Linked DNA regions of Homo sapiens: regions 2, 3, 4, 5 and 6 are each linked to region 1. Evidence: promoter capture Hi-C in 16 types of primary human blood cells and fetal thymus (Javierre and others, 2016). All regions are on one chromosome and are shown on one strand. Each heading gives the region's core, a stretch centred on a gene start or on the middle of the fragment in contact. The rest is flanking DNA. Distances are from core to core; before and after follow the strand shown.

Region 1 (3,091 bases), core at 194-2,693:
ACCCGGGAGGTGGAGGTTGCAGTGAACCGAGACAGGGCCATTGCACTCCAGCCTGGGCAACAAGAACGAAATTCCGTCTCAAAATAAAATAAAATAAACAATAAAAATAAAGGGTTAACATGGGGGCTGAGCACGGTCAGCGAGAGAATCACTTGAGGCCAGGAGTCTGAGACCAGCCTGGGCAACAGAGAACGCTGTCTCTACAAAGCATAATAATAAAAAAATGAGCCAGGTGTGGTGGCATGCACCCGTGGTCCCAGCTACTTGTGAGGCTGAGATGGGAGGTTGAGACTGCAGTGAGCCGTGTTCGCATCACTGCTCTCCAGCCTGGGCACAGAGACACTCTGTCTCTGAAACAAACAAAAAAAGAGGGGCTAACATGGTAAATTTCATGTTTCTTATCAAGTAAAAAGGCTTGCTGACCCACAATCTATATTAGGTTTCCCTGTTACTAGCAAGGAGTGAAGGATGTGCTATCCCAAAATATGTCCAAAAATTGGTATATTATTTTGAGCTAAAAACACCGGAGAAATTGTAGTTTCAGAAAGGGCTAGATGACCTGTCGTTTCCTACAGGGAATAAGCAGTAAAGATTCCTCTGGGAGTGGCACCCTCTCTGTACCCGGGTCAGAAAATAGCCCTTATCACCAGAGACTGGGAGTTGGGGCTGCAATGGACCTGAATAAATGAACTTCCCAAGTAACACTTACCTTCCACTAATTTTACACCCTCCCCAATATTTCTCCTAGTGACTCTCTTAGAAATGTATCGCCCCAGCCAGATGCCTTTTGTGCTTTCTTCTCAAATGCATCATTCTTTGTCTAAAAAGTATAAAAGCATCTTGCTGTGGCCACTTCTTCAGACCTCACTCTCTTTTGAAGGTCCCCATGAAAAACTAATAAAGTGTGTATGCTTTTCTTTTGTTTATCTGCCTCTTGTCAATTCGGTTTCTGGCTCCAGCGGAAGAGCCCGCAGAAGCGCTGAGGGGACTGGAGACGGTCTCTGGCGCCCCTACACCTGCTCAGTGAGCCTTCAGCCCCTTCTCCCTGACGAAGCTCCCAGAGGCTGGAACTCTGGCGCGGGAGGCACTTGGGAAATCCTCCCGAAAGCAAGGAGGAGCCTTTCCTAGACCGGGAGCGGTCCCACGCGGGGGTACAGGTTGGGGCAGGGGCGACCGAGCCGGGCACAGGAACTCGCAGCAGGGTAGGGTTGGCGGCTACGCCGCCCTCGGTCCGCGGGGAACCACGCGGGCTTCCGGGTCACGCCGCCGCGTTCCGACCGCCCTCGGGGAGAGGGGAGGAGCCTCCAGCGCCGGGCGGGGCGTGGTTAAGGCCGGTGGGCCCCACCGCAGCCAGACGCTGCCCGTTTAAGCGCAGAGGGCCGCGGGTCACGTGGTGGGCGGGGTGGGGGCGTGGCACCAGGAAGCGGCGTCCGCGCCGGGCCCAGAGCCGCAGCCGCAGCCGCCGCTACAGTCCGGGCCGGGCTCCACCGCGCATCCTGCTCCACTCTGGCGACCGCCCCCGGGGCCCCCGCCGCGGGCGCGGCGCCCGCCATGGGCGAGGAGGACTACTATCTGGAGCTGTGCGAGCGGCCGGTGCAGTTCGAGAAGGCGAACCCTGTCAACTGCGTCTTCTTCGATGAGGCCAACAAGCAGGTCCGGCGCGCCCGCGCTTCCTCCCCCGCGCGGCCCTGCCGGGGTCGTGGGCGCGCCAAGGCCGGTCCCGCGCGACCAGGCCCGAGCGTCCCCTCCTGTCCTGTCCCGTCCCGTCCCAGCGCGGGAGGCGGCGCGCGCTCCTTCCTTGTTGGGTGGGCTCAGCCGCGGCCAGGTGTCCTCGCAGGTGACCTCGGGGCTGGACCCCCGAGCCAGCTGCGCGGATGCAGTGGCCCCGTGGCCAGTGTCTCAATTGTTGGCGCGCCCGTCTTATCTAGGCTTCTTTTGTTGTGTTTGTCATTAGTTACACTCGTAGTCAAGGGTTTAGACGTCGAGATTTTCATTTTCCTTGAAATTTTGTAAAGGGGGAAAAGACTGTACTTCAGGCGTATCAGCGGCGCCGATGCGCGAACCGGTGTTAGAACTTGGAGCCTCGGGAACCCGACCCGGTGTCACGGTGGCATCCTTTTCGCTCTCTGCTCTTGGTTTTTAAAATTCACCTGAGCAGCCAAACATCTGTACCTTGATATGTGCCGTGTTACTTTAGTTGAACCCAGGGTGGTGTATAACAGAAATAATCGCTTGCGGGTTGGCTTCTGAGTTTAGATCCTTTCAGAGTTCAGGCTGTTAACCTTGCTGCTTTTCCCTCTCAGGTTTTTGCTGTTCGATCTGGTGGAGCTACTGGCGTGGTAGTTAAAGGCCCAGATGATAGGAATCCCATCTCATTTAGGTAATGGTATAGACACTTTCAGATCATTTTGTCATGTAAACAGAATGATGTTTTTCTAATTCAAATGGTTTTTTATAATTTTGTCATTTGGTCTGCCCTAAGAGGCCTGAAGTCTGTGTGCGCACATGGAATTCCTGTCTGTAGGGAGGGTCTTCGTGGCACTTACTAGCACCTCTTGTCAGAGTGGAATATCTGGAGCAGTTGATTTGGGAGCCAAATACTTCAAAAGTGGGGCAGCCACTTCCTAGCACTGGAAATTAACAAGTCAGCGTGATGATGTGCCCATTTCTGGTTTGTTCACAGAGGAGGGCGTTCATTTCTTTAGCCCAGGTCTTTCCAGAGTGGCAGGTGGAGGAGATTCATTGTTTCTCATGTAATAATACAAGAAAATCATGGCTTCCACTATACTTAAGGTGACTGCATAGTCCCAGTTCGCACTGTTGAACAGGTTTAATGATCAACAGCAGGGCCTTTCACTTTCAGAAGTGTCTCGATTTGGATGATAAGCTATCTGGCCACTGTAACACTGGTGCTTACAGAAGGTGAAAGTATAATGTAGGCCCTCAATTCAGTAGTGACTTAAAAAATTTTACTGTTGGTCTGTGTTAATGAGAAACTGTCCTTTTTTGAGAGGGAGCCTCCCTCTGTTCCCCAGGGTGGAGTGCAGTGGTGCGATCTTGGCTGACTGCAACCTCCGCCTCCCAGGTTCAA
Region 2 (3,091 bases), core at 190-2,689, 700 kb before region 1:
TTCACTGGCGGAGGAATAAGGAGTCCTGCTCAAATATCAGACTCCAGAGCACATCAAATGGAGCCTGAGCCTGAAGATGAGTGTAACGACAGAAGAACGTGAGCAAGAGTCAGATCTGAAGAATGGAGAGGCATTTCTTCACTGTCTCCCCTACTCCTTTTTTTTTTTTTTTTTTTTTTTTTTTTTTTTTGAGACGGAGTCTCGCTCTGTCGCCCAGGCTGGAGTGCAGTAGCGCGATCTCGGCTCACTGCAAGCTCCGCCTCCCGGGTTCACGCCATTCTCCTGCCTCAGCCTCCGGAGTAGCTAGGACTACAGGAGCCCGCCCACCATGCCCGGCTAATTTTCGTATTTTTAGTAGAGACAGGGTTTCACCGTGTTAGCCAGGATGGTGTCGATCTCCTGACCTCCTGATCCGCCTGCCCAAAGTGCTGGGATTACAGGTGTGAGCCACCGCCCCTGGCCTTTTTTTTTTTTTTTTTTTTTTTTTGAGACAGAGTCTTGCTCAGTCGCGCAGGTTGAAGTGCAATGGCGAGATCTCGGCTCACTGCAACCTCCGCCCCCCAAGTTCAAACGGTTCCCCTTTTGAAGAGAGCAATTCAGAGGGCCATTAACTATATAAGCACAAGAAAAGTCCAAAGATCCTGGAGCTACCTAGGGAACAGAGCTCCAAAGAAAGCCTCCTGCGTGGAAGCTTCCCTGAGGAAGAGCTGATAACACCTTAAACCTCCTCTGGATTCAAGTTAAAGGTGAGAGGGAAATTTTCCAGTGGAATCCTGCCCAGCAGTTAATTACAAATGGCAAATTTTAAATCATCTCTGCTTTGGTGTTCTGTGTTAGAATGGAAATGGAGATGGACAAACTGTTTACTTCTTTCATTTACTTTGTAGCGCTGGGGTGAGGGGACTCTAGGCTGTTTTGTTTCAAGGAATTGTTTAAACTTTTTATTAAATTTTATTTTAATCAAGACGGAGTCTCGGTCTGTCACACAGGCTGGAGTGCAGTGGCGCTAGCTCGGCTCACTGCAACCTCCGCCTTCTGGGTTCAAGCGATTCTCCTGCCTCCCGGGTTCAAGTGATTCTCCTGCCTCAGCCTCCCGAGTAGCTGGGATTACAGGCGCTCAACACCATGCCCAGCTAATTTTTGTATTTTTAGTAGAGGTAGGGTTTCGCCATTTTGGCCAGGCTGGTCTGGAACTCCTGGCCTCAAATGAGCCTACTGCCTTGGGCTCCCAAAGTGGTGAGATTACAAGCGTGAACCACTGCATCCAGCTCAGATTTTCAAAGTGAGGGTAAATTCTAGGAAATAAAACAGAAGATTATAGAGGTGAATAATTTAAGAATTTTAATTAATGCATAGAAAATAATAGTGCATAGTGCTGGTGTCTTAGAATATGTTTACTATTCTTTGAATATTTATTTCTGAAATTCGTCCCTTCATTTGACAGAGCTGTATGTGGATTACTACAAATGTCCACCAGAGGGAGACTCAAGACTGAGTTTTCCCCTTGGGGTTCCTTCAGGTTTAATTAGTACTTGGGCCAAAATCTCTACCACATGTTGTTATAGGGAGGCAATCCAAGACGGCGAAGAGATTTATGGTTCTGGAATGAGATAAAAGGATAAATAAAGGGATGGTTCTATCCTTAAACATCCCTGCTTTTTCTCTGGGGCTTGGGTCACTTTCTCTTACTGATCCTCTGAGGTTTGCAAAACTGAGTTATTTGTCTGCTTTTGAAAGCAAAGCCCTTAGGATTCCTGGCACTATCCACGCTGAAAAAAACCGTAGGAATACTCCCACCCACTAGCAAAGAAATGTGTCATTCAACTCACAGGAGGCATTTACTAAATTCAGGAGATCCCTCCAGGGATTATAATGTTCTGCCAGAGCCAAAGGCAATCTAGTCCCAAGCCATACCATGGAATTTGGTAGAGGATGGTTTTAGTCTTCCCTGAAGTCTTCATTTGTTAGTTCATTCAACAAAGAGGAAGACTTTATTAAGAGGCAGGTATTGTTTCACTTTTTAAAAGATATCTCTAATTATAGGAAAAATCTAATAATGAAATGAATTTATCATTAACATGCAAAAGCTGTTCTAAAACAGATTTCTGAATAGAACATGTTGTTGGTATAGTTTACATTTGAGATTTTAGGAAACACTTTTATATCACCTATTATGTGCAAAGGGGAAAAGCTTTTTGACAAACAGATATTAACATAGAAGTACAACTATGAGGCACTGCTGTGATTTTCCTTTTCAGAGTTTTGTTTTTTAATAAATCAGACATAGATGGTTGCACAATTACTTTCTATTCATGATCACCTAATTTCCCACATTAAGCCCTGAAACCAAATCTTGAAAATGAAAATAAAATTAGACTGCAACCTGCCACCCACTAGGGAACAAACACCTCTACATGCCTTGGCTACAAATTTAACAATAAAAAAAGACTTTAAATCCCACTTTAATATCTAGGACTTGGGGGTCTGGGGTCAGGTAAAAGCAGGGTAATAGCAAAGGAGTGATTTTTCCCTTACTTCTAGGTTAAGCAGGCTGGTTGTACGGGGAAGCAGTGACTGGTAAAGAGTTAAAGCTCACAGAGTTAACTCACTGGTTAAGAGTTAAAGCTGGTTAAGAGTACCAGCTCACAGATTTGCAGTGAGAAAGAACCCAAGCTCTTAGCATCCTTTTCCTTGGGCTCTAAATCAGTTGTGGGAAACAGTGAAAGGTAACATACAGGACAGGATTTTTTTAGCGAGATCACCTTCAGCCATGGTTTCTGATGCAAAATGTTCTCCCGCCAGCACCCAAGACCATAGATGCTGTGGCGGTGGTGGCAGCAAACACTGGGCATGCTTGGACGGGCAGCCACAGGGTTGCCACGGTCTCGGCAGGGTCTAGTAGACAGAGGTCTTGTGATATCTGCTGGGAGTCATGGGAACAAGTGGGAATTTATCTTTGGTTCCAGAGAACATAAAATGACCCATTTCTTCCAGTTGCGCAATAAAAGAGAAACTTAAGAAGGAAAAATGAACCAGTATAAAATGTAAACTTAGCTGTGTCTGTTTTGGTCCTAGAGGAGCAAAGGTGATT
Region 3 (3,091 bases), core at 175-2,674, 630 kb after region 1:
AGAAACACTCTTAGTCTTTGGGTGGGAAGATAACTTTTGATTTTATAACTATGTCCCTGAATTAAGAATTTCTAATAGCAACTTATATTGAGCACAACATAAGACTACTTTTTCAAGAATAACTCGAGGAAAATTGTCCAAAGAGAACCTTATTGACATTCAGTTGACGTTTTTAAAAATGAATACAAAGTTTGAGGTTTGAGTAATATGAAAATCAAGTGGATGGGAAACCTTTACTGGGAGTGTAGAGATTTTACTTTGGGAAATGCAAAATTGAGTGTGCTTTATACCACAGTACCCTGTGCAAGCTTAGCTAACAGAGTGCATAAATATCTTTCTTTGATCTTACAGGAGGATTTCTCTGGCTACGACTTTGAAAACAGATTGCATGTCCGCATCCATGCTGCTCTGGCCTCTCTGAGGGAATTGGTTCCTCAGTGACAGACCCGGAACACCCGCTCCGTCCCTCCCCACCCAGGGTCCGCACTTTAAAATAAAAGCAGAGGACAAAGCTCTTGTGAAGATGGGCTTTTCTTCTGAAAACCACCTGTGCCAGGGACACATTTTCCCAGTTAAGCTGACATATTAAAGATCTCCTCTTTTAAACATGTAGCTGAAAAGTAATAATGATGTTGAGGAGGATGATGATGGTAATAATAACTAACCACCTGGGGAGAGGGTTAAGTGACCTTGCTCAAACGTTTTAGTTTTGTGATTTATTATTTTTAAAATAAAATCAAACGGAACATCCAACCCAAGATCCTGTAGGAACACCTACCTTAAGCACATATCTGAATGGGTAACATGATGAGGTACCTGTAAAATTATTAACAATATCATGACATAGCATTTATATTTGTGTTTTGAAAAAATAAAAGTGCTTTCTAGTGTTTTACTTTATCCTCAAAATACTCCAGTGAATAACATAGCACAGATATTCTTAACCCCACTTTGCAGACAGTGAAACTCAGGCACAAAAAGGCAAATTGACTTATCCCAATTAATTATTCCTGTTATCAGCAGAGCAATGAATAGAAAGCAGATCTCCTGACCACCAACTGACTTTTATTGTAAAAATAATTCATGTTAATAGGCCAGAATTCCATGTTTTACTTATTAAAAGAACAAAATCTTCAGCTGAAGTTATGTCACCAGAAATAGTCATCTCCAGATTGTCTACAGAATGTTTCAAAGCGATGGACACTCTTTTTCCTTTGAAAGCCAACCAAGTAAGAGCAAATATTAATAGAAGATAATTTTACAACTAAAAGTGTGACTCTTTTGCTAATCTATTAGCCTAGTCTATAGATTAGACAAACAGTATCTACATTTTAGGAGTTTACCTTTCTTTGTGAAAATTGTCAAATTACCAACTTTTGGAAATCTTTTGACACATTACTTGAAAAGGTTATTCGTGAATGAACATAGATTTTGGCCTCAAAATATTTGCTGGTGGAACATTTGCTGGGCTACACAGTGCCAGGATTTAATCATTTTCCCCTTAGCTCAGGTTATTTAGATATTATACAAGGAATTCAAAGTTATTTTTTTATTCTTCATTGCTAATTTTTGTCATTTAATTTACCTCCATGCCCGGTACTGCAAACCTGTGGTTTTGAAGAATCTAAATACCTCAGTCACTTTTAAGAATCTCTGCCATAATTTGGCTCAATGTTTAAGGTTAGATTTTTAAAGAAATTTTTATTGAGCTAAAGGATATCATTTTAGGGTATCGTTTATTTACAAATTCTTTTGGCTGAAACATGATCTCATATTAATATTTTAATATTTCTTTTCAAAATAAAACAGAAAAGCAAGTAGAATGTTGGCAAATTTTATCTGATTTGACCTTGTTTTGAGGGAATAGTCATAATTTCTTTGAAAGAAGTTATTTCTCACTGATTTTGGCTAAACAGTATTCATATTTCTTCATCTCTGTTACTGACCACTTTTCAGTAGACTGTTTCCAAAATGTGTATTCACATTGACTTTCTCCCTGATGTGAATTCCGTGTGGGTTTTAGATAATAGTAAGAGAGAAGAGATTGCTCTCCTATATTCAGTGAATGAGAAGGGAACTTTTTTCTGAAGAGCAAAATTGGTGCCCAAAAATATTGGACATCTGTTTTTTGTTTTTTTTTTTTTTTTTTTTTTTTTTTGAGACGGAGTCTCGCTCTGTCACCCAGGCTGGAGTGCAGTGGCGTGATCTTGGCTCACTGCAACCTCTGCCTCCTGGGTTCACACCATTCTCCTGCCTCAGCCTCCCAAGTAGCTGGGACTACAGGCACCCGCAACCACACCCGGCTAATTTTTTTTGTATTTTTAGTAGAGATGGGGTTTCACCATGTTAGCCAGGATTGTCTCCATCTCCTGACCTCGTGATCCACCCGCCTTGGCCTCCCAAAGAGCTGGGATTACTGGTGTGAGCCACCGTGCCCGGCCTGGACATCTGGTTTTAACTAGATGGAAGGGAAGAACATTATGAATCTTTAAAATACGGCTGTTGCCATTTTTCTCTCTTCTTAACATGCAGCATAGGTGACAAGCTTTTCTGTCATCATCATGGAGCATTCTGAATCATGACATTTTTGTTTGAGAGTTCATTCTTGAATTTTCAGTTCAAAATATTGTTTGAACTATTATTCCACATTCAAAGATTATATAAGGTCCTGTGCTTTTGAATCTTTTTCAAAACATTTATTTCTGCCTGCTTAAAAAAAATACTTTTATTTCCCCACAGAGAGTTCAGGACTTCAGATTAGTTTGTGTTCAGCTCACTTAACTGGATAGACAATTTTGCGTTTTGCAACACCATCCTGTAGGTTTTCTTTACTAGTCAAAGTGTAGGTCTTTTTAAAATTTTTAATCTTTATTTTTATTTTTATTTTGAAACAGAGTCTCACTCTGTTGCCCAGGCTGGAGTGCAGTGGTGTGATCTGTGCTCACTGCAACCTCTGTCACCCGGGTTTAAGCGATTCTTCTGCCTGAGCCTCCCAAGTAGCTGGGATTACAAGTTCCTGCCACCGTGCCTGGCTAATTTTTGCAGTTTTAGTAGAGGCAGGGTTCCACCACCTTGGCCAGGCTGGTCTTGA
Region 4 (3,091 bases), core at 328-2,827, 600 kb after region 1:
CTAGGCCACTCCCACCTCTTTGTAGCCATTGCTTAGATTGTGCTTTGTCTTCAGGATTGTAGTGGTAAATCCACATTTCATCTCCTATTACAGTTCCTTGAAGAAACACTTCAGGATCTTGATCCCACTTATTTACAATTTCCATTGAAAGCTGTGCCCATGTCTGCAGCTGATCTGGGTGCAGTGGTTTTGGCACCCATCAAGTGAAACTTTGCTCATCTTTTTTGGTCAGAATGGTGTAAGCTGAACCAATTGAGATGTCTATGGTGTTGGCTATTATTTATAGTCCTCTTCAATTAGGGCATGAACAAGATTAATATTTTCTTTGCAAATCTGTGTAGATGGTCTGCCACCATGGGCTTCATCTTCAACATCGTCTTGGCCCTTCGTAAACTTATACATTTGCAAACTGCTGATTTCTTTGGGGAATTATTCCTATAAACTTTTTGTAAAGTGTCAGTGATTTCACCATTCTTTCACCCAAGCTTCACCATAGGTTTTATGTTTGTTCTTGCTTCCATTTAAATGCAGAATTTATGTTGCTCTGATAGGGGCTCTTTTCAAGTTGATGTCTTATGCTTCTTAGTGCCTCAAACTAGATCCTGCTCAGACATGTTATAGCAAGTTAGTATGGGCTTATTTTGGTGTAAAAAAATTTGAAATTCATGCATAGTTTTATTATAATGCACATTTTCTATGACCATTTTGAAGACCCTGCCTATGTCTTAAATAAAACAAGAATATCATGATTGCCTTTTAAATATATATTATATTATTTTTTATCCACTTGTTCTCTCACATATATACATAACTATCAGTTTCTCAGGTTCTCTGTTAATGGGAAATTTAAATTGATACTATGTTTATAATATTTCTTATCAGTCACTGAGGATATGTCTTCATTTAGTCATGTCACCTTTTATTTCTCCCATTTTGACTATAAAATTTTTGCATATGTCTGTCCTGTCGTATATAGCAAGCAGGGGTCCAGATGAGATAAGTACTTTGTGAAAGTGTACATAGTTATTTTAGGATTAAGGAAGACCTAGAATTCAGGCTTTCTTTCTTTCCTTTCTTTTCCTTCCCTCCCTCCCTCCCTCCCTCCCTCCCTCCCTCCTTCCTTCCTTCCTCCTTTCCTTTCTTTCCTTTCTCCTTTCCTTTCCTTTCTTTTCTCCTCTCCCTTCCCTCTCCTCTCCTATCCTCTCCTCTCCCCTCCCCTCCCGTCCCCTCCCCTCCCCTCCCCTCCCCTCTCCTCTCCTCTCCTCTCCCTTTCTTGCTTTCTTTTCCTCTCTCCCTCCCTTTCTTTCTTCTTTTCTCTTCTCTTCTGTTTGTCTCTTTTTCATCTCTTTTTAGATGGAGTCTCGCTCTATCACCCAGGCTGGAGTGCAGTGGTGCGTTCTTGGTTCATTGCAACCTCTGCCTCCCGGTTCAAGCAATTCTCCTGCCTCAGCCTCCTGAGTAGCTGGGAGTACAGGTGCCCAACACCACACCTGGCTAATTTTTGTATTCTTAGTAGAGACGGGGTTTTGCCATGTTGGCCAGGCTGGTATCGAACTCCTGACCTCAAGTGATCCTCCTGCCTTGGCCTCCCAAAGTGCTGGGATTACAGGCATGAGTCACTGCGCCCAGCCCAGGCTTTCTTTTTTTAATCGAGTGTTTTTTCTAGTATATCCCACTGCTTTTATTTGCTAATAAGTTAGAGGAATGTGTGTGTGTGTGTGTGTGTGTGTGTGTGTATATATATATCTATACACGTATATACATATAACATATATACATATATATAACATATATACATATATATATATAAAACGTGTGTGTGTGTGTGTGTGTGTGTGTGTGTATGTGTGTGTCTTAGTTTGGGCTGCTATAAAAGAATACTATAGATTGGGTGACTAAAACAACACACTTTTATTTCTCACAGTTCTGGAGGCATGAGATCCAGGTGCCAGAAGATTGGGTGTCTAGTGAGGACCATGTCCTGGTTCATAGATGATGGCTTCTCACTGTGTCCTCAGATGGTGGAAAGGGGGCTAGAGAGCACTCAGGGGTCTCTTTTATGAGGGCACAAATTGCATTCATGAGGGCTCCACCCTCATGATCTGATTACCTCACAAAACTCCCACCTCCTAATACAGTTCCAGTGAGGGTTAGGATTTCATGTATCAATTTTGTGAGGCAGGAGCATTCCATAACAATGTTATATATAATATATAACTGATATATGTAACTTAGCAATTAATATATATATGTATGTATTTAAATGTGAATATAAATATTTCTGGGACTTGTGTTTACTAGGCTTTAGGAATAGACCTGATTTGTTTTTAATGATTTGGCTAAAAGCGTATCTTTTTTATATGCTTTCTTATATCTCCATATTTTGGAGAAACAGATCACTTAAAGTAATTAAACTGCCATTAAACATTGGAAGGAGTTCTTATGTAACTTACTGCTGTGAAATTCCCTTTTGAAATCAGTTTTTTAATAACTTCCCTTATTTCTTCTGTAATGTTAATATATATTTACTTATATCCATTTTAGTTTTATATTATAGTTTTCCATTTCTAGTTATTACTTTCCAAACATATAACTTAATACTAGTTTCAGATCTGTAAAAATGTGATATTATTTTATTAGACTAATTTGTGTTTTCTTAATTTTATGATTAAGCTTTTGGATTATCATATTGGTTTTGAGAGAGAGAGATTGATTTTTTTAATCAACTCATTTTAAAATTTCCATCGTTTCTAGTTTCCCTTAACTTAGCTTGTTTTACAGTTTTTCTTAATAGTTTATCATAACACATTTGTTGTATTAGAATAGTTGGATATTTGTGTTCTGGGATTAGGGATTTGATCACATTCAGGGTGTTTAGGGAGCCTGAAGGTTTTATTAAATGTTCATTGTGATGTGTCTTAATTATCTGATTATGATTATGATTCATCTTACATCCTTTAATAACCTGTGTGGAAGGCCTACTCTGAGTCTGTGGCCCTTGTCCTCCGCCTGGCAGAAGCTCAGGGTTTAGGGCTCACCCCTGGAGGCCACTGTTGGGATGAATCCTGGCCCCTCCACTCTGGCCGAGTGA
Region 5 (3,091 bases), core at 229-2,728, 570 kb before region 1:
TGTTCTTAAAATAGTTATGACTGCAGGTATAACAATTCACCCCAGTTTACCAGTATTGTGTGTTCATGTCAGAGATACTAGAGAGTTTTAGATAAATAATCATAAAGGATTTAATCACTTACTTTTTAATTTTATGCCTGGAGACACAGGCACTTAATGCTGGGTGGGGGATGGGATGATGCAGGGAGCAGGACAGAGATGGGAAATGCCCAGCACAAATAGCAGAAATAAACGAAGAATTGGATACCCACGTCCCAGTTCCATCCTGCTTCTTTAAGTAAATCACACAACCTCATTTGTTCACTCATTGATTATATTATATATGCTGGGCCTGCGCTGTACGATACAGTAGCCACTAGTCACATGCAGACTTGAGAACTTATAATGTGGCTAGTCTAAACTGAGATGTGCTGTAAAGGTAAAATATATAACAGATTTCAGAGACTTAGTATGAAGAAAAAGAATGTAAAAAGTCTCATTAATTTTTATATTGATTACATGTTTAAATAATATTTTAGATAAACTGGGTTAAATAAAATATATTAAGTTAATTTCACCTGATTTTTACTTAAAATGTAATTTTTAGAAAATTTAATATTATATATGTGGCTCTGTGGGATAGTTCTGTGCTAAGACTCTAGTAAAAAGTAGGAAAGAACCCAGGAGGCAGAGGTTGCAGTGAGTCGAGATTGTGCCACTGCACTCCAGCCTGGGCAACAGAGTGAGACTCTGTCTCAAAAAATTAAAAAAAAAAAAGCAGGAAAACAGGGCTGGGCGTGGTGGCTCATGCCTGTAATCCCAGCACTTTGGGAGGCCGAGGAGGGTGGATCACCTGAGGTCAGGAGTTTGAGACTAGCCTGGCCAACATGGCAAAACTCCGTCTCTACTAAAGACACAATAATTAGCTAGGCAGGTGCCTGTAATCCCAGCTACTCGGGAGACTGAGGCATGAGGATTGCTTGAATCTGGAGGGTGAAGGCTATCATAAGCTGAGATCGCGCCACTGCACTCCAGCCTGGGGGACAGAGTAAGACTTTGTCTCCAAAAAAAAAAAAAAGTAGGAAAACAGAAGAATAAAGAAAGCACAGTCTGACATCAAGGAGCCCAGCTGAAGATTAAAAACACAAAAATAATTACAATATAATGGTGTTAAGTGCAATGATAAAGATATATATTGAGGGCATGGGAGAATGAGGAAGGCCATTTGTGAAAGGGTATAGAAAGGAAGGATGAAGAGAGATGTTAGGTTAGTCGCCTGAAAGAGGTAGTGCCTGAGCTGAGACTTAAAAGAATAAGAAAGATGAAGTGTAACAAATGGGGGTGAAAGTAATTCCAAGAGAAAAACATTGTATGAGCCAAGAGTAAGACACAGCCAAGGGAAGGAGAGAGGAATAAAAGCAGTTTCCTGTTGAAAGAGGGAAAGAGCAAGGGGTACAGCAGAGACTGTGCAAGGATAAGAGCTTGTGTGACATTTTAAAGAAACTGATTTTTAACCTTTAGGCAATAGCCTTTTTTTCTTTTTTTTTTTTGAGACACAGTCTCGCTTTGTCGCCCATGCTGGAGTGCAGGGGTGTGATCTTGGCTCACCACAACCTCCGCCTCCTGGGTTCAAGTGATTCACCTCCCTCAGCCTCCCGAGTAGCTGGGATTACAGGTGCCTGCCACCATGCCCATCTAATTTTTGTATTTTTAGTAGAAACAGGGTTTCACCATGTTGGCCAAGCTGGTCTCAAACTCCTGACCTCAAGTGATCCAACCACCTCGGCCTCCCAAAGTGCAGGGATTATAGGCGTAAGCTACCGCACCAGTCTGGCAACAGTCTTTTGAAGAGTTTTAAGCAAAGGAATGCCAGGATCAGAAATAATGGTTTAGATGTTGGGCAGCTGTGAGACTGAATTAAGGTGAACAAGACTGGAAGCAGGGAGGCTGTTGCCTAGGTAAGAAACATCAGGGCCTCAACTAGGGCAATAAGTGAGGTTGGAAAGGAAAGCACTAATTCAAAATTATATTTAAGAGGTATCATCAGCAGAATATAGTGCCTGACTCGTCCTGACACCATGGAAAGGAGTTTGGATTTTATTCTAGGGTGATGGGAAGACCCTGAAATGCTTTAAGCAGGGAGTGTGATTTTCTGATAGATTTTAAAGAACCTCTCAGACTGCTGTTGGAGAATATACTGTAATGGAGAACAGAGTGGATAACAGATTTTTTTTTTTTTTTAAAGGAGGATATTGCCGTAGAAGAGGTTGATGGTAGCTTGAACCAGGGTGGACACAAAGGTGAGAAGCAACTGGATTGTTTGGGCAGGTGTGTGTGTGTGTGTGTGTGTGTGTGTGTGTGTGTGTGTGTGTGAAGAGACAGGCGGGTGTGTGTGTGTGTGTGTGTGTGTGTGTATGTGTGTGTGTTTAAGAGACAGGTTCTGGCTGTCATTCAGCCTATACTGCAGTTTCTCAAATCTCAAGTGAGCCTCCCGCGGGCCTCCCACAGCGTTGAGGTTACAGATATGAGCCACCCTATCTGGCCTCAGGTTGTATTTTTAACTGCAAATGGTTTTGCCTAATTCGTAGGGTTGAGAAAGAAAAAAGCAAGTTTAGGAAGATCACACTTGTGGAGCTCAATTGTCTTGTTTAATCAGGAGGCCAGGTTGTCCACCTAGAGTGAAAATAGCTTCAGAGGCTTGAGGACTGAAAATAGTAAAGGTCTGGAAGACAGCAGAGAAAATAAAAAGAGCTGAACAAAGGCTATTTTAAGGATTAACTGATGCCCTGCATGAAGTTTGAAACCATATGACTTTAGTGATATCAGTCTAACGTGATACGTCATTTTCCCTTCACAACACTCAACTACCCAGCTGCAGGAGTTAAGCATAGATTCTAGAATCTACAGGATTTCATTTGTAAATGGCTTGAGTTAGATGACTTTTAAATCTACGTGAGTTCCAAAACTTTACTTTTAAGAATCCTAGAGTCTGTACTGCTATCACACAATTTATTTTAAATTGGTGCCTAGATATACATAATGTAAACTTACCATTTTAACTATTTCACTAGTTTATTTAAATTCAGCATTCTAGCCAGGGGCCTCCAATAGG
Region 6 (3,091 bases), core at 427-2,926, 580 kb after region 1:
GTAAGTAAACGACAATCAAAGACTTTAAAGGAAACTTCAGGTAAAATGTTTGGTTGGTTGACAGGGTGCTGTGTCTTATGTCTTTCAATGCAACACCAAGGACTGTGTTCTGTGGTCGTGGTGGTGGTTCTAAGCTGACTTTAGTTAGAGAACAAGGCGTTGTTCACTAGTCTCACAAGTCATGTATTTTAAAACCTCAAATGATTTTATAAGCAGTTTTTGTGACTTTGACCACATTCTCTGAGATTCACGATTCTGATTTTTGGACTTAGGAGGTACAAATTTGCTAAGCTTTTTCTGTGTTTCTGAAATTTTTATTCTTATAAAGAATTCTCACATTGGGTAATTTTCCTTGATGATTCAAGGTGGTTTCCTATATGTGACATGGATATTTTGTGCTCTTTCGCTAAACTGAGTCATGTTATGTTCCTTGGTTTAAACTTAAATAATAATTATTTAAGCAGGAGAGCATGAGGAAGCTGATATAACTATCTAGAACAAGAATTCACCAATTTCTACATCAGTTAAAAGTGATGTGTTTTTTGTTTGTTTGTTTTAGTCTGGCAAATATCTACCATTTGTAACTTGAGTAATTTAACACGATTCCGGATATTCTTTGTCTAACATTACAGCACTTGTCAAAATTTTCCCCAAAAATGTTGATATCATAGAGGACCTTACCTCTATTTCTACTTGTATCAGTATTGAGAAATTTGGATGTTAACTCTTAATCAACTGATAGCTATTTAAAATACCATTAATTTTTCATTTAAAAAAATTATGCCTCCCTAAACTCATTGAAGTACACAGTTGTCCTTTATTAATGTGAATTAATAGGTTTGTTAACTTGTGATCATTTGTCTGTTTATATCTTAATATTTTATGCTTATCTCTGATAAAGAAATGAATAGAATTAATAGTGTCATTAGTATGAGCTCCATAAGAGAACCAAATTTATAAGCACACCAGAAGTATGCATTTACATAAAAATATTTGACATGTTGGTTAAACATTTTTGTCTGGCTGTTGTTTTTTTTTTTTTTTTTTTTGAGACAGAGTCTTGCTCTGTAGCCCAGGGTGGAGTGCAGTGGCGCGATCTCGGCTCACTGCAACCTCTGCCTCCCGGGTCCCGGTTCAAGCAATTCTGCCTCAGTCTCCCAAGTAGCTAGGATTACAAATCCCAGTGACTCTGTTTTGTTTACCTAGTTTAACATGGCCATTTTTTTTTTTAAATAATGAGTTTGGAGCAAGGGAGTCTGAAGTAATTTATTTATTTGCTTGTTTTTTAAATTGAACATCTTCAAAGGCCAGAGAAAGAGCCCTTTGTCTTATCCCCTCACTTATTTTAACCCAACTTAGTATAATTTGTGTCTGTGGTTTCCATATTTAAATTTATTCTTTTTTATAAATTTTCTTTTTCCTTTTGACCTATTTATTTGTGCATGATATTTAAACTTAGATTCTAGGTTTATACCCTAAGTTTTGTGAACGCAAGAGAAAACAACATTTTCCTTTTGCCAAAAATAAATAAATAAAGCTTTTATTACAAGGGAACGGTAAACTCATGGTGACTAGTTACCATTTCTAATTGGTGCATTAATGAGTAAAGTGTAGAATTCAGAGATTTATGTCAGCCATCTCTTCAGCGATCCATCTAGAAGGCTCAGAAAAGCTAAATGCTCCTGTTACTTTATTCTCTTCTCCCCTGAGGGAAGGGTGTCTTCTGATTTATATATTGTGCTAAAGTTGCAGTTTTCCAAATATTAACATTAAAATGGGGAAAGTCTCTGATTTTACTTCTTCAGAGACTGCATAGTAAGCTTTTTGGATAGAGTAGTATTGGAAGAACACATACTGGAGTTTTGAAAAATGGAAATGGTGTAAGGAAAGTTAATGTGCTCAATGTTTCTCTCCCTCTTCCTCTAGATTAGCTCTGCTCTGGTATCATACTGTAGTCCGCCCGTTTTTTGCCTTGGATGGCAGTGATAACAAGGCAGGCCTGGATGAAGCTAAGGAAATTCTCCTTAAAAAAGAAGCTGCTTATCCAAATTCTTCCCTCTTTATGTTTTTCAAGGGACGGATACAACGACTAGAGGTACTGTACCTTCCTCATCTTTTTAAAATAAAGCCTCCGATGATCAAATCTCTGATTCTCACTTGAGGACTGGTATTAAAACGAGCCAGAATGTCCCAGGGCCCCGGAGCATTTTGTTCTTTTGCCTTTCCTTGTGTCTTTGCTAGGGAAGACTCTTCCAGGAACCCAGGATGTTAGTCAGTTACCTTCTGTTCGGAAGATGTGGGCGAAGTAGGGGTAAGATTCCTCATTGCTAATGACACAAGATTGGTGCACTTCCAGCCTAAGGCACGTGAGCATTATTTAGTTGCTGAGTTGAAAAATACAAAATACAATTTTTTTCCCTCTCTGAATTACTAATAATCTCTTTCTAAACTTTGATCTTGGCTAACAATTGACTTATACAAAAGTTACTGCCTTAAATATCAGGGCAACATGAGCTTTGAAATACTAGGAGCTTTTATCACATTTTCATGTGCTTAATTTGGCTCAGTACTGCGTTAAGAACTTTATACACGCTTTTCCATTTCATCCTCAGAACAACCCTGTGACATAGGTGTAAAATTGTCATCTGCATGTTATAGAAAAAATAAACAGGGATCTAAGAGGGCTTCAAGCAACTTCCTGTGCTTGCCCAGTGAGTGAGCCTGGGTTGTCTCACTCCAGAACCAGAAATGCGCTGGCCTTTGGAGTCTACTTCTCCTTTGCATATCTTTTTATCTGCTTGTTTGAGGTTATGAGGATTTGTAGAAAAATGAAACTATAAGAAATTAATCATACCTATGAAATAAGATAGCTGTTATAGTAGCTGCTCCATCTACATTGTTACCAAGAGTTATCAGGGAATCAGTTTGAGATTTTAACAACATCTGTCCTCCAGTTAACCAGGCACTCTGAGAAATCAGCCCCCATGAGTCCTTTTGAAGATTTTTGCCTAGAAATGCTTTCATGGGCACAGGAATAATTTGTTTTTTTGGGGGTGGGGATGCAGGCAGTGGAGTGTATATTACTTTCCCA

The links. Contacts are between HindIII fragments. The CHiCAGO score rates a contact against its expected background, and 5 or more counts as called.
Region 2: a fragment that was not itself captured here is called in contact with the fragment with the promoter of RMC1 in region 1 in 2 of 17 cell types (naive B cells and total B cells); the score reaches 7.5 in naive B cells.
Region 3: a contact is called between a fragment that was not itself captured here and the fragment with the promoter of RMC1 in region 1, in 1 of 17 cell types (total CD4 T cells). The highest score is 5.4, in total CD4 T cells.
Region 4: a contact is called between a fragment that was not itself captured here and the fragment with the promoter of RMC1 in region 1, in 4 of 17 cell types (naive CD4 T cells, total CD4 T cells, naive CD8 T cells and 1 more). The highest score is 6.6, in naive CD4 T cells.
Region 5: a fragment that was not itself captured here is called in contact with the fragment with the promoter of RMC1 in region 1 in 1 of 17 cell types (naive B cells); the score reaches 5.3 in naive B cells.
Region 6: a fragment that was not itself captured here is called in contact with the fragment with the promoter of RMC1 in region 1 in 1 of 17 cell types (total CD8 T cells); the score reaches 6.1 in total CD8 T cells.

What each region holds. Positions count from the first base shown.
Region 1 is chr18:23,502,068-23,505,158 of GRCh38, forward strand. RMC1 (regulator of MON1-CCZ1) reads left to right here and starts at 1,444. Exons shown (of 20, transcript NM_013326.5): 1 at 1,444-1,653; 2 at 2,304-2,380. The coding sequence starts at 1,552. RefSeq lists a silencer at 1,156-1,805 and an enhancer at 2,056-2,155. The HindIII fragment of the contact is 15,374 bases long and covers 1-3,091 here.
Region 2 is chr18:22,797,742-22,800,832 of GRCh38, forward strand. All of the region lies in intron 2 of RBBP8-AS1 (RBBP8 antisense RNA 1), which reads right to left. LOC124904263 (a long non-coding RNA gene) reads left to right here and starts at 489. Exons shown (of 2, transcript XR_007066308.1): 1 at 489-746. The HindIII fragment of the contact is 1,500 bases long and covers 690-2,189 here.
Region 3 is chr18:24,132,134-24,135,224 of GRCh38, forward strand. TTC39C (tetratricopeptide repeat domain 39C) reads left to right here. Exons shown (of 14, transcript NM_001135993.2): 14 at 352-3,091. The coding sequence ends at 441. Among named protein-coding and RNA genes, the nearest start is that of CABYR, 5.4 kb to the right of the region's middle. The HindIII fragment of the contact is 2,237 bases long and covers 307-2,543 here.
Region 4 is chr18:24,097,301-24,100,391 of GRCh38, forward strand. The region is part of intron 6 of TTC39C (tetratricopeptide repeat domain 39C); the gene reads left to right. Among named protein-coding and RNA genes, the nearest start is that of CABYR, 40 kb to the right of the region's middle. The HindIII fragment of the contact is 2,188 bases long and covers 484-2,671 here.
Region 5 is chr18:22,927,159-22,930,249 of GRCh38, forward strand. All of the region lies in intron 1 of RBBP8-AS1 (RBBP8 antisense RNA 1), which reads right to left. It also overlaps a transcript of RBBP8 not described here. Among named protein-coding and RNA genes, the nearest start is that of RBBP8, 4.6 kb to the right of the region's middle. RefSeq lists an enhancer at 2,516-2,565. The HindIII fragment of the contact is 3,813 bases long and covers 1-3,091 here.
Region 6 is chr18:24,080,987-24,084,077 of GRCh38, forward strand. TTC39C (tetratricopeptide repeat domain 39C) reads left to right here. Exons shown (of 14, transcript NM_001135993.2): 6 at 1,927-2,095. Among named protein-coding and RNA genes, the nearest start is that of CABYR, 57 kb to the right of the region's middle. The HindIII fragment of the contact is 283 bases long and covers 1,536-1,818 here.